Linked DNA regions of Homo sapiens: regions 2, 3 and 4 are each linked to region 1. The links are contacts of gene promoters, found by promoter capture Hi-C in blood cells and fetal thymus (Javierre and others, 2016). All regions are on one chromosome and are shown on one strand. Each heading gives the region's core, a stretch centred on a gene start or on the middle of the fragment in contact. The rest is flanking DNA. Distances are from core to core; before and after follow the strand shown. Region 1 holds the start of SPCS3 (signal peptidase complex subunit 3). Region 2 overlaps WDR17 (WD repeat domain 17). Region 3 overlaps WDR17 (WD repeat domain 17). Region 4 overlaps WDR17 (WD repeat domain 17).

Region 1 (3,376 bases), core at 541-3,040:
CCGCGGTCAATCTGGTGTGAAAATAGGTGAGTCCAGTAAAATAAGTTATTTTGAGAGAAGGGGAAAGAGATCATATTCACATAACTTTTATTATAGTATATTGTTACAGTTCTATTATGTTATTGTTAATCTCTTATTGTGCTTAACTTGTAAGTTTTATCATAGGTAGGTATGTATGTACGGTATAGGAAAAAACCAAGTATATATAGGGTTTGGTGCTATCCGTGGTTTCAGCCATCCACTGGGGGTCTTGGAACGTATACCTACCCCATTAAGGGGATACTACTGTAACCAGCTGCTATTTACTGTTTACTACGGCTCAGACCCACTGACAATATTTTTCACATTTCAAATAATTCTCACAACCTAAAAATTAGGTATTACTTCCATCTTAAACAAAAAGAAATTAAGGCCCAGAATGGTAAGAAAACTTGCTCAAGACAACAACAGCTAACATCTGTTCAGTGTTTAATATGCACCAAGCTCTTCTAACCCTCACAGGGCTGACAATGGCAGTGCTGATGTCCACCCCAGGTCTATTCGAACAATATCTAACAAACATCAGTACAGTAATTTAAAAAAAAAAAAAAAAGGTGGGGGGAGAAGGCTCGCTATTTGATAACTGGCTTCTTGGCGATTCTGACAAAGAAATAAACTAAGGTTAAAGAACTTGTGTAAGACGGAAATAGAGTAGAAGGGTATGAGAACAAGAGATGGAAAAATACGACGATTAAAGACAAAAGTGCCAGAGAATAAAATCAAGGACAAAATAGGCAATAGCGAAATGGCACTGTCATTTCGAACTGCATTTTTTGGCGTTTTCGCAGACTTCTTCAAGTGGTTGGCAAAAGAAAAAGAAATAAAGAAACCCAACAAAACAAAAATCTCGCTGTATCAGAAGGCTAAGATGCTTAATTCTCTCAGTGCCCAACATCTCTGGCCAACTTCAAAGCAGCTCCAACTGTTTACTGCCTTCTGAAGGTGCAAAGGCAACAACTGTAAAGGGAATGTCAAACAGGGCAAACTCGGGTGATGAATGACACAAAGACAACCCCGTCCTGTGGCCTCCAGAGCCGCCAGGAAACCCCACGGAAGCCCGACCCAGAGCGCGGCGGCAGCGCCTGGAGGGCCTCGCATGCGGACCACGAGCGGCACCGGACGCGCGGGAGGCGCCAGCCCAGGCGGGCGGCGGCGCCGGCTCTGCTGTTGTGTTGCTCCCTCATTGGCCAGGCGTGGGTGGAGGGAAGTGAGGAACAGGAAGCAAGCGGAGGCACCGACCTGAGGAACGCTCAAAATTAAAATTTAAGAGCAAGCCCGGGAATTTACGGTGGAGGGGTGCAAGTTCCGAGGGGACGCCGGAAAAGCCTGCGACGTCCACCCCTGACGACCGCCCTCGGGGGCGAACTGCCGCTCAGGAGGGCGATCCGGACGCCCTGCCCGCGGCCCCGGCACGGCAGCCCCGGCGCGGCGGCCCGGCTTCGGCTTCCGCCCCAGCCCGGTCCCGGCGTCCTGCACCGCCGGCCCGGCCTCACTCACAGCATGATCCGCGAGACGTGCAGCCGCACCGGGACGCTCCTGTCTTTGAAGGCGGTGGTGATGAAGCAGCCGAAGGTGAGCGCCGCCATCACGCTCAGCGAGAAGGCGAACAGTGAGTTCGCCCGCGACAGCACCGTGTTCATCGCGATCGTCTCCCACGAGTCCGGACTCCACACGCACACCCAGGCTCCCGTTCCGGCGGCGGACCGGCTCCCTGCGATCCGCGCCGTCTGCGGTGCGCGCGTTCCGGGAGCGCGCGCCGCCGCAGCCCCGCCTCCTTTCCGGTCCTCCGACGCGAGCGCGCGCGCGCCCGCTTCCCGAAACACACCCACAGCGCGCACGGGGCGGCGCGGAAAGGGAGAGACTCAGCCGCGGGCCCGCCCCTCCGTCGCGGCCTAACGCCGCCACCAATCAGCGACGAGTGAGGGAGGGGCGGGGTTTGTTGTGGAAGACCCACCCCCTCCTCTTCTAAATTGCTTCTCCGACCTTTGGGTTCAGAGAATTGGGAACCGGTCGTTCGCTGTCCTTTTTCGGTTCTTTGGTCAGAGGTCTGGGACTGCGACTTCTTGATTACTTATGTACCATTTATTTTCACTTGAAACCGGCAGCAAGTTAAGGTGGTTTAGAATCTGTCCTGACGGGTGGCGTTTGGAAGCAGCACTTTACAAAACGCCTGGTCCTCTCCCTTCTTTGTCAAACCTGGTCAAAGTTAGGACTTGAGCTTTTTTTGGAGGATCTGAGGAGCAGTGGGGAGTGGGGAATTAGCCGCCCAAGTCCTTAAAGCTGTCACGTGCATCAGTATTTCCACCTCCAACGTCAGTCCAATTCCTATTAATGCTTTGCTTTGTATGGATAGCTAAAGATGTTTTAGAAGATAAGGGTTGAGGCTACCGATCCTAAGTATTTGCATTTTAACATGGTGATTTCTGATAAATAAAAGGATAACCTTTCTGGGTTCTTAGGAGCAAAGAAGATAATGGCTGCGGAATTGCTCTACAGCATAATGTATAAGAATTTCGTTGGGTCATTAATAAATAATGCAATTATTTTATCACATTTTCAATATCCTGAAGGGCATTAGGGTTCAAACCGAGCCAATCCTGACTCTGATTATACTATCTGCCAAAACCTTTGTTCCTTTCACAGCTAAGGGTTTTTATAAAAATGGATTCAGGGTCTGCTGAAATAAATTTTTTTTAAAAATTTCAGTCCATAAACCAAACAAAAATATCTGTCCTGGAATGTGATCAGGAACAAACCAGAAAACTGTGAACATCTGATCTTGATACTGGCTTATGTTGTCTCTTGTTAAGCTTTTGCTTCTTTGCATTATTCATGACCATTCAATTAATTTTTGTATAGCCATACAGGTAGGATTATTACCAAGTGCCTACCGTGTACCAGGAATAGTTCTAAGCCTTGAGAATACAGCACTAATAAGGCAGACTCCCTGCTCAAATAGAGCCAACTAATGAAAAATCGATAAAATAGAGACTAAAGAGAGATCCTTAGTTGCGTTTAAAATCTTAGTTTTTAACTTCCAGGCTGGCACAGTTTGTTAACAAAAAAAGAAAAAAAAGGATTTTTATTGAATGCCATCTATACTGCAAGTGATACAGAGATTGTACTGATCACTTTCTACACTCAAAAGTATATAATCAGGTAGAGTTAATAAAATAAAAACAAATCTGAAATGTAAAACAAAAAAATACCCTGGGAAGTTACATAGCAAAGGAGGAAGGAATTACAGCCCTGGTAATGTGGGACAACACAGTGTGCAAATTATTTAACACAAAGCCTAAACAAGACACATTATTATTATAGCATGTTTTAGGGAAAT
Region 2 (3,376 bases), core at 643-3,142, 240 kb after region 1:
GCTGCTTCAAGAAACTTAGAGCAGAAGAGCTAGACACACAGCAGACACATGTTGTCTAATCTACCAACAACCATTCTCACTTGTCTCCTTCCCTGCCAACAGAGTCCCACATTCTTTTGGTACAGGTGGAATTACACTGATCTCAGGGAGGAAAGGCTGTTTACCTATCCTAGGAGGAGAATGATGTTTGGTCTATGTCAGTCATAGTAATTTCATCATCTGGACAATTAGAGGCCTAGGTGTGGGCATCTGATCCAGCTTCAGCTAAGGAGATACAAGTGGAAATCTATGGTGTTATTCTCCTGCCCTTCTGACCGGAACATTGATGTGATGCTGTCGCTGCAGCAGCTGTCTTGCATCCCCGAAGGAAAGGCCAAGAAAACTGCAGAGATGCTGCAATTCTAACACTATTGTTGCACCATCTTCAGGCATCTTGTTATAAGAAAAAAAGGAAGTCTGTTTTAGTTACTGATTTTCTGTTATTTGCACTTGACTTCATTTCTAATAGACACAAATAAATGTATGAAACAATATGCAATAGCTGCTATAATAGAGAATGAACACATATTTGGAGGAACAGAAAGAAAAATGTGCCTATGATTTAGGTGGCCAAGAAGGCTGTATAAAAAAAAGGTGAGGTTGGAACTTTGAGAGGGAAATTATTTTTCTGTGCCTAAAGTATAATGGCACGTAAAAAGGAGTAGTGGAACATGAGAATGAACAGACAGGCGAGACAGAATGATGGAAAGTCATGTAGATCATGGTAAGAACTGTGAATTTTACTTTATAGGAGATGGGGAGTCTTTGAAACATTTTCAACATGCTAACGATATTTTAAAATCACACAGAAATCCCATTTTGTGATTTACTAATATCATCCTGACACTATTTTGAAAAGGCCTCTGGGGGACAGGGTAGCAAAACATGTATAAGTAGATGAGAAAGACAAGGGGCTGAACTAATTAACTGGCAGCAAGGGAGAGGTAGAACTTAAGATTTGTAGACTTCTGCCTGACTGAATAACTTAGCCCCATTCATTGAGAGAGAGAATTCAGTAGGAGCTCCAGGGTCTGGGATAAAGCGATAAAGCTCTATTAAAAGATATTGAATGCAAAATGTCAGTGCGACATGTAGGTGGAGATTCCTAAAATTAAAATACAGAGGTCTGGATAAGCATTTCATACACAATTTTGAGTAACACCAATGTCTGAGGGATAAGTACAGGAAAGAAAAAGGAGTCTGAAAAGACAACCAAGCAAAGAGATACAATAAATAAAAATAATAGAGAAAATAATATGTTAAATGTCAAAGGAGAACGTTCTCAAGCAGGTTAAATATTTCAGACAGGCCAAGTAAAATTAAGACTGAAGTATTCATCCTGCATTTGAGGATTAAGAAGCAGGCTGTTAATTAGCAAAATTAGTAAAACCTCCACTAGTCAATGATCGGTCCTCATTTTACTTGCTACTTTAGCAGCAGTAGCTGCCACGTTGGATCACAGTTGAATCCACCCTCCTGAAACATCTCTTTCACTTACCTTTTAGAAAAGTGTTTTCTTTTGATTCCCCTACTACTTCAGTGCCTTCTCCCCATTGTTTTTTTAAAATCTTTTTGTTTTGATTCCTCATCATCTCCCTGAACTTCAAACTTTAGAACGTCCTAGGGATCAGTCCTTGGATTTCTTCTCCACACCGGTTCTCTCGGTGATCCCATCCAGTTTTAGAAATTTAAATACCATATACATTTACCCCCAAGTTTTTATCTTGAGTCTAATTCATATTTATAATTTCCTGCTTAACATCCCCACATGGATTTTAAATAGATTCTCAAATTTAAGTTATTAAAAAAAAACTTATGATGTTCCCCACAAAATATGCTCCTACTTGTTTTTTTCTAATTCAGTAAATGGCCACCAATCTGACTATAGTAAATAGCTACTGATGACTGCTGCTATGGTTTGACTGCATCCCCTACATTTCATGTGTTGGAAACTTAATCCCCAATGTGGCAGCATTGAAACGTGGGGCCTTTAAAATTGATTAGATCATGAGGGTTCTGCCCTTGTGAACAAATTAATCCATTCATGGATTAATGAATTAGTGGCTCAATGGGTTAGCAGGTTATCATGGGAGGGGAAGTGGTGGCATTATAAGAGTAGGAAGAGACCTCAACAAGCATGTTAAGCATGTTAGCATGCTCACCCCCCCTCGCCTTGTGATTACCTGTACTGCCTTTGGACTCTTCAGAGTCCCAACCAGCAGGAAGGCTCTTAGGCTTTTACCAGATGTGGCCTCTTGACCTTGGACTTCTTAGCTTCCGTAATGGTAAGAAATAAACTTATTTTCTTTACAAGTTACCCAGTTTCAGGTATTCTTTTGTAAGCACCAGAAAATGTATGAAGACAACATATGTATGTAGGTATAAAGAATAACTGATGTTTCCTTAATTTGATTCAATATGAATCACCTTCTGGTGATAGAGACATTCCATTTGAGATATGTATGAGTGTGTATGTGTATGTTGACATTTTAGTAAAGACTATGTGTAAATTTTTAAAAGCATTAAGAAATAGAGACTATTTGCAGTACTGCTAATAAAAACTGGGTTTTATTTTTCCAATTCTAATACATTTCTTATTAGTTTACATTTCATTACTTACTGATTAAACAGCCCCATGACAAAAGGAAATCAGAACATCCAAAAGATATCTCCACTCCCATGTTTACTGCAGCACTGCAGCACTATAGCCAAAATGTAGGATCAAACGTAAAGTCCATCAGCAGATGAATGGATAAAGAAAATGTGGTATATATACACAATGAAATACCATTGAGCCATAAAAAAATAAAATGCTGCCATTCATGGCAACATAGATAAGCCTGGAAGACATGTTAAGTGAAATAAGCCAAGAACAGAAAGGTAAATACTGTATGTTCTCACTCTTATGCAGAAGCTAAAAAAGTTGGTATCATACAACTAAAGAGTAGAATGCTGCTTATGAGAAGCCACAAAGGGTACAGGGTAGGGGAGATAAGAAAAGATGGATTAAATAATACAAAATTACAGCTATATAGAAGGAATAAGATCTAGTGTTCTAAGCACTATAGGAAGACTATAGTTAACGATAATTTATTATATATTTTCAAATAGCCAGAGAGAGGACTTTGAATGCTCCCAATACAAGAAATGATAAATATTTGAGGTGACAGATATACTATCCTGATTTGATTACTCTATATTGCATGTATCATAAATATGTGCCCCATAAATACATATAACTATGTTTTAATGAACAAAATAAATTAATTAAAAAATGACAAAAAGCCCATGACAAAGATCAAAATATGAGTAGAATTGGAGAGATAAGCAGCAAAAT
Region 3 (3,376 bases), core at 588-3,087, 220 kb after region 1:
ATATTGGTCTTAACATTAAGTGTCTTTGATCCATTTTAATTTTTTTATATGGTGTTAGGTAAGAGTCCAATTTCATTCTTTTGCATGTGGATATTTCGTTTTCCCAGCACCATATGTTAAGACTGGCCTTTCTGCATTGAATGGTATTGCCACTCTTGGCAAAAGATATTTGGCCATATATGTAAGGGGTTAGTTCTGAAGTCTCTATTTTATATTTATATATAAATTTATATATATTTGCAGGATAAAATATTATATTCCACTGGTCTATATAACTGCCTTTATGCTGGTATGACACTGTTTTGATTACTGTAGTATTGCAACAAGTTTTGAAATCAGAAAATGCGAGTCCCCCAGTTTTGTTATTCAGGGTCTCTTGAGTTTCTATATCAATTTTAGCATGGCTTTTTAAAATTGTTGCATTTGCCCATTTCATCTAGGTTATTGAATTAGTTGGTGTACAATTGTTCCTACTACTATCTTATAACGTTTTTAATTTCTTTATAATCTGTAGAGATGTTCCAACTTTTATTTGTGATTTTAATAATTTGAGTCTTCTCTCTTTTTCTTAGTTTATCCAGCTACAGGTTTGACAATTTCGTTGATCTTTTTCTCTATTTTTTTTTCTATTCTCTACTTCATTTATCTCTGCTTAGATATTATATCCTTCATTCTAGTTTTGGGTTTAGTTTATTCTTTTGTTAGTTCCTTAAGTTGTAAAAATAGGTTGCTAATTTGAGATCCTATAAATGCTTTAATGAAAGCATTTATAGCTACAAATTTGCCCCCTGGCATTGATTCCACTGCATCCCATAAGTTTTGGTATGTTGTGCTTTTGTTTTCACTCATCTCTAAGAGTTTTCTACTTTCCCTTGTGATTTCTTCTTTCATCCATTGGTTGTTGGAGAGTGTGTTAAGTTCCACAAATTTGCGAATTTTTCAGTTTTCTTTCTGTTATTGATTTCTAACTTTATCCCACAGTGTTCAGAGAAGACATAATGTATGATAACTACTTTTTAAAATCTATTGAGGCTTAATACTTGGCCAAACATATTGTCTATCCTAGAAAACATCCCATGTGCACTTAAGAAGAATGTGTATGCAGTTACTGAGTAGGGTGTTCTGTATATGTCTGTTAGATCTAATTGGATTAATATATTGTTTGAGTCCTCAGTTTCCTTACTTATTTTCTGTCTGATGTATTCATTATTGAGAATGGGGTATTGAATTATCCAACTATTATTGTAGAACTATCTATCCCTTCAATTCAGTTAGTTTTTGCTTCATATATTTTGATGGTGTTTTTTAGGTGTATAAATGTTATAACTTATATTTTGCTGCATTGAAACTTTATTAATATATAGTGTCCTTCTTTGACTTTTCTGAACTTTTTTGACTAAAAATCAATTTCATCTAATATTAATATAGGGCATGCCTGCTTTCTTTTTGCTACTCTGTGCATGGAAAAAATTTTTTTCATCCTTTTACTTTCAATCTATTTGTGTCTTTGGATCTCAAGTGAATCAACTGTAGACGGCATACAGATGGATCTTTTTTTAAATTAATTCTGCCAATCTCTTTTGTTTGAAGAGCTTAATATCCATTTACATTTACAATAATTCCTGATAAAGGACTTACTTCTGTCATTTTGCTATTCATTTCCAATATGCTTCATAGTTTTTTTGTCCTCATTTCCTGCAACGCTTTTGTCTTTTGTGTTTAGTTAATTTTTGCAGTGAAACTTTGAATTCCTTTCTCATTTTCTTCTGTGTATATCCTATAGCTATTTTATTTGTGGCTACCATGGGGATTAAACTTAACATGCTAAAGTTACAAGACTCTAATTTAACTTTATTCCAAATTAGCTTCAATTACATACAAAACCTCAGCTTCTTTAAAACTCCAACCCCACACCTTTAAGTTGTTGATGTCAAAAAATTACATCTTTATATATTGTGTGGCCTGAAACACAAACTAATTAATTATTTTAAATACATTAGTTTTTTAAATTAAGAGAAAATAAAATGTGGAATCACCAACCAAAGTTACAATAATACTACTTGTATACTAAGAATTTTTAAAATATTTTATTCTCTTAAATGATGATGAAAACAAACAATAGCATTGTTTCCAAATACTAGCACTTATAATTGTCCATGTATTTACCTTTATCAAGATCTTTATTTTTTCATATGGCTTTGAGTTACTGTCTAGTGTCATTTCATTTCACCCTGCAGAACTTCCTTGAGCATTTCTTCCAAAGCAGGTTTAAAGATAATGAACTCCCTCAGTTTTTGTTTACTGGGAAATGTATTAATTTCTCCCTCACTTCTGAAAGACAGTTTTGCAGGATAAAAGATATTTGGTTGACATTCTTTTTTTCTTTTAGCACTTTAAATATATTGGCCCATTTCCTTCCAGTCTCTAAAGTTTCATATCAGAAATCTGCTGTTTATACTATTGAGGATCCCTGTATGTATGTGTTAATCACTTCTTTCTTACTAATTTCAAGATTCACTCTGCTTTTCAAGATTTGATTATGATGTGTCTCCATGTGTGTCTATTTCAGTTCAAATTCTTGGAGCTTGCTGAAACTCTTGGAAATTTACTTCATGTTTTTCATCAAATTTGAGGAGTTTTCTGCCATTATTCCTTCAAATATTCTCTCTTCTCTTCCATCTCTCTCTCTTCTCTTCTGGTACTCCCACATGAGTGCATATTGGTGGGCTTCATAGTGTCCCTTATGTCCCTTCGGTTTTGCTTACTTCTCTTCAATTTCTTTCTGTTCCTCAGACTCAATATTTTCTATTGTCTTATCTTCATATTTGCTAATATTTTCTTCTTAAATATGTCTTTGAATTCTTCTATTTTACTTGTTATTATATTTTTCAGCCCTACAATTCTTTTTTTGGTTTTCTATCTCTATTATTTCTATTTTGTTCATACATTGTTTTCTTGACTTTCTCCATATCTCCTTTAGTTTTTAAGCATCCCAAGACAGTTGTTTTAAAGTCTTTGTCTAGTAGATCTTTCATCAGGTCTTTTTCAGAAAGCATCTGTTTATTTTTTTTTCCACTGAAAGAAACATAATTTTCTGTTTCTTTTTAGGCCTTGTGGCTTTTTGTTGAACCCTGGACACTTGAATCTAGTAATATGGTAACTCTGGAAATCAGAGTTTGCTGTTTTTGTTTTTATTTATTGTTTTTGTTTTCAATTGTTGTGGGCTGTCTGTGTCAAGGATCATCCTCAGGTATAAACATAAGGACTACTCAGGGTTATTCTGAACCTGTGTCCTCTGTTCATGCATAGTAACTTCCTAATTTTCTTTGTATAGGCAGTTGCTTTTGAATTGCATAGGCTTTAATGGATGGCTCCC
Region 4 (3,376 bases), core at 358-2,857, 150 kb after region 1:
GGTTCTTGACTTAACAAGTAATATTTTACAGTTTCAAATATATTGTCATCTGCACGGGCTGTCTCAGCTAACTGCATACATTCTTCCACTGTGGGTAGCTTACACTAGAAAATAATTGATTTGAAAACAATGTTACTAAAATTCAAACGGATAAAAGCAATAGTGTAAGTACAAAATACTTTCAGCTTTCCTAGTATGGTTTTCTTATTAAAGTTATCTAAAATAGATGTAAATGAAATTATTTGAATTAAGAGAATATATTTATGGAAATACCTTTAAGATCTAAAAACAGTAAGAGGGGATATTAGTTAATGAGTTAGTAGTTTTCCATCACACAAATACCTAATAAAAGAAATAGAAGTAAATTGTCCTGATTGTGATACTGGAGTTAGTACCCAAAAATGCCATTTAGCACCCAAATGATGAAATTAATTATGTTAGAAAAAATATACTGACCATAACGGCGCAAAAACGACATTAAATGCACCAAACATAAAGGGTGTGCATTATTCCATGTCCTCTACGCTGTAATTTAACGTCACTTGGCTTTTGAAACAAAGCAACCTTATTTCAGAGACACAAAAAATGTAGAAGCTCTAAAAGTTTTTAGCTTTGACATTTTGAAATGCCATGAAATGGAGATTTTTTCATCCATGAAATTTCATTACTATAAAATAAAAAGCCACATTCCTCATTAAAAAAAAATCTTTTTCTGTTAAAACTGAGAGTCTGATCCTCTCTCAAGTAAGTTGGTCTGCTTCCTTATAATGTATTAAGCATTAAGTTACCTTTTATATCAAATTCTGATGTGTTTATAATTGTTGAAGCTTAAACGTTCAAGTTTGTTGCTAAACAATGTGGATAAAATAGTTTCATGGTTTGTTTCAATTTATTTATTAATACATTCATTTAATCATTTCAAATTTCTTATTTAAAAATTAGGTAAAATGAACATTTTACATCTCAATCTCTCTCTCAAACAAATTACAACAAACTGAATTAACGGGGCTCTCATATATATAACGTTTGATATTGTTTCCCCATCCTTATTCATGAAATGCCAGTTATTTACAAAGCAACTACTATAGGGTAGGTACTGTGCTTGGCTAGATAGAGACATAGGTTCTTCACCTTGATATATGCTCATGGCATAGAGGAAATAAGAAATCACTCCCATTTAAATATCGTTTTTAAATAGACTATAAGAAGAAGAAAAAGATGATCATCCTTGTAATTTTTATCCTATTTTAAAATTCTAAAAGTTATATAAGTACCTCATATGTGAATATATAGTTTTTAGTGTTACAGACAGTCCCCAACTTATGTTTTGACTTTATGGTAGTGTAAAAGCAACATGCATTCAGTAGAAACTGTACTGTGAGTACCCACACCACCATTCTGTTTTTCACTTTTTGTACAGTATTCATTAAATTACATGAGATATTATTATGAAATAGGCTTTGTGTTAGATGACTTTGTCCAACTGTAGCCTAATGTAAGTGTTCTGAGCACGTTTAAGGAAGGCTAGGTTAAGCTATGATGTTTGGTAGGTCAGGTGTGTTAAACGTATTTTTGACGTAGAATATTTTTGACTTATGATAGATTTACCCATTGTAACCCCATGGTAAGTCGAGGAGCATCTGTACTTGTGAAATTGTTCAGTTATTAACACTTTTACACATACTCACTAGTCTTTCTAAAAAGATATTAATGAAGTCTGAACAGAAAGTCTAATTATATCCTTTTAGAATGTGTGATGAAAAGACGAGGTGAATAATATTCTAGCCCTATCATTAAAAGCGGTCTTAGCTAACTGCCTATATTCTTCTACTGTGTGTAGCTTGCACTAGAAAATAATTGATTTGGCCAGGCGTGGTGGCTCATGCCTGTAATGCCAACACTTTGGGAGGCTGAGGCGGGTGGATCACCTGAGGTCAGGAGTTTGAGACTAGGCTGACCAACATGGTGAAACCCTGTCTCTACTAAGAATACAAAATTAGCTGGGTGTGATGGTGCATGCCTGTAATCCCAGCTACTTGGGAGGGTGGGGCAGGAGAATCGCTTGAACCCAGCAGGCAGAGGTTGCACTGATCTGAGCTCGTGCCATTGCACTCCAGCCTGGGCAACAAGAGTGAAATTCCATGTCAAAAAAAAAAAAAAAAGAAAAAAGAAAAAATAATTGATTTGACAACAATGTTAGTAAAGTTTATAGGAATAAAAAAATAGTACATATACTAAATTTTTCCTATTACTAGTGTGGTTTTCTTATTAAAGTTGTCCTAAATGATATAAATAAAATTATTTGAATTAAGAGCATATATTTATGGAAATATCTTTAAAATCTGAAAATAATAAGTGAGGTCATTAGTTTAAGTCTTAAAGCTTAGACAAGCCATTTAGCCTCTCTGAGTCTTGATATTAACATCTGCACCTTCTGCCTCAGAGGATAGCTGTTAGTGTACATTCAAACACTACCAGTTAATGTATAATTAAAAAACTCCTACTTTCTTTCATATGCATTTTAATTTCAATGTAAAATAGCTTTTAGTTGTCATGTTAAAAAAACAAAGCACAGCTTTTAAAAAAAATAATTCACAGACTACAAGGTGTATAAAGTAGTTAAAATATCCCATCATCTCACAACCCACTGGTAATTTCGGACATTTATCCTTTCACAAGTATTTTCCGCGTCTCAACACAAACACATTCACATACACATATCCACCCACACGTTGTCATTCACACACACTTTTGGCCAATCTGTATTAATACAATACTCAGAAAATATCTGTTGCTTAATGAATAGGGATACTCACCCACTAGGGATAAAAAAATCACGGTTCAAATAAGTGAAAAACTTCATTATTTTAGAAGTTCAAGATGAGAAAATATTGTACTTATATCTTATCATTTTCTTAAAAGAAACTGTATCTTCCTAAATATGCTATAAACATAAATAAATACATACATTCACATTTATTTTCAAACCAAAATCATATGGCATATGCATAGTTTTGTGATCTGCTTTCTATTTAACTGTTTCATAGCCATGTATCATGCCAATAAAAATAGAGCTTCATGATTTTTAATGGATTAATAGCACTGAAATATAGAAAAGTACTGTAATTTAATATAAATAATCTTCCTATTGAACATTTTGGTTGTTTTTGTATATAATATTGATGCATAGATTCCTATATTCTGCAGATGAGTATTTTTAAAGCACTTTGGAAAAATGCATGTAAATTTCATTATATTTCATTAATTCTTTTAAGGATTCTAAGTTGTCTATTTTAAAAATTTATCCTACAACATACTTCAGTATGCAAAGTGTACAGTGGAAAACACTTGGGATTTGGAGTTAGACTTGCTGAAG

Evidence for each region. The method cuts DNA at HindIII sites, captures the fragments that hold promoters and counts their contacts. A CHiCAGO score of 5 or more calls a contact.
Region 2: a contact is called between a fragment that was not itself captured here and the fragment with the promoter of SPCS3 in region 1, in 1 of 17 cell types (monocytes). The highest score is 7.6, in monocytes.
Region 3: a fragment that was not itself captured here is called in contact with the fragment with the promoter of SPCS3 in region 1 in 1 of 17 cell types (monocytes); the score reaches 6.5 in monocytes.
Region 4: a fragment that was not itself captured here is called in contact with the fragment with the promoter of SPCS3 in region 1 in 4 of 17 cell types (total CD8 T cells, monocytes, naive CD8 T cells and 1 more); the score reaches 6.9 in total CD8 T cells.

Annotation. Positions count from the first base shown.
Region 1 is chr4:176,318,380-176,321,755 of GRCh38, reverse strand. It overlaps SPCS3 (signal peptidase complex subunit 3), which reads right to left and starts at 1,790. Exons shown (of 5, transcript NM_021928.4): 1 at 1,537-1,790. The coding sequence starts at 1,679. It overlaps SPCS3-AS1 (SPCS3 antisense RNA 1), which reads left to right and starts at 1,246. Exons shown (of 4, transcript NR_186171.1): 1 at 1,246-1,611. RefSeq lists silencers at 1,077-1,156, 1,187-1,256, 1,377-1,496 and an enhancer at 1,479-1,979. The HindIII fragment of the contact is 6,231 bases long and covers 1-2,851 here.
Region 2 is chr4:176,078,675-176,082,050 of GRCh38, reverse strand. The region is part of intron 1 of WDR17 (WD repeat domain 17); the gene reads right to left. Among named protein-coding and RNA genes, the nearest start is that of WDR17, 15 kb to the right of the region's middle. The HindIII fragment of the contact is 5,497 bases long and covers 1-3,376 here.
Region 3 is chr4:176,103,135-176,106,510 of GRCh38, reverse strand. The region is part of intron 1 of WDR17 (WD repeat domain 17); the gene reads right to left. Among named protein-coding and RNA genes, the nearest start is that of WDR17, 39 kb to the right of the region's middle. The HindIII fragment of the contact is 3,686 bases long and covers 1-3,376 here.
Region 4 is chr4:176,169,103-176,172,478 of GRCh38, reverse strand. WDR17 (WD repeat domain 17) reads right to left here. Exons shown (of 29, transcript NM_181265.4): 24 at 1-104. Among named protein-coding and RNA genes, the nearest start is that of SPATA4, 25 kb to the left of the region's middle. The HindIII fragment of the contact is 1,555 bases long and covers 830-2,384 here.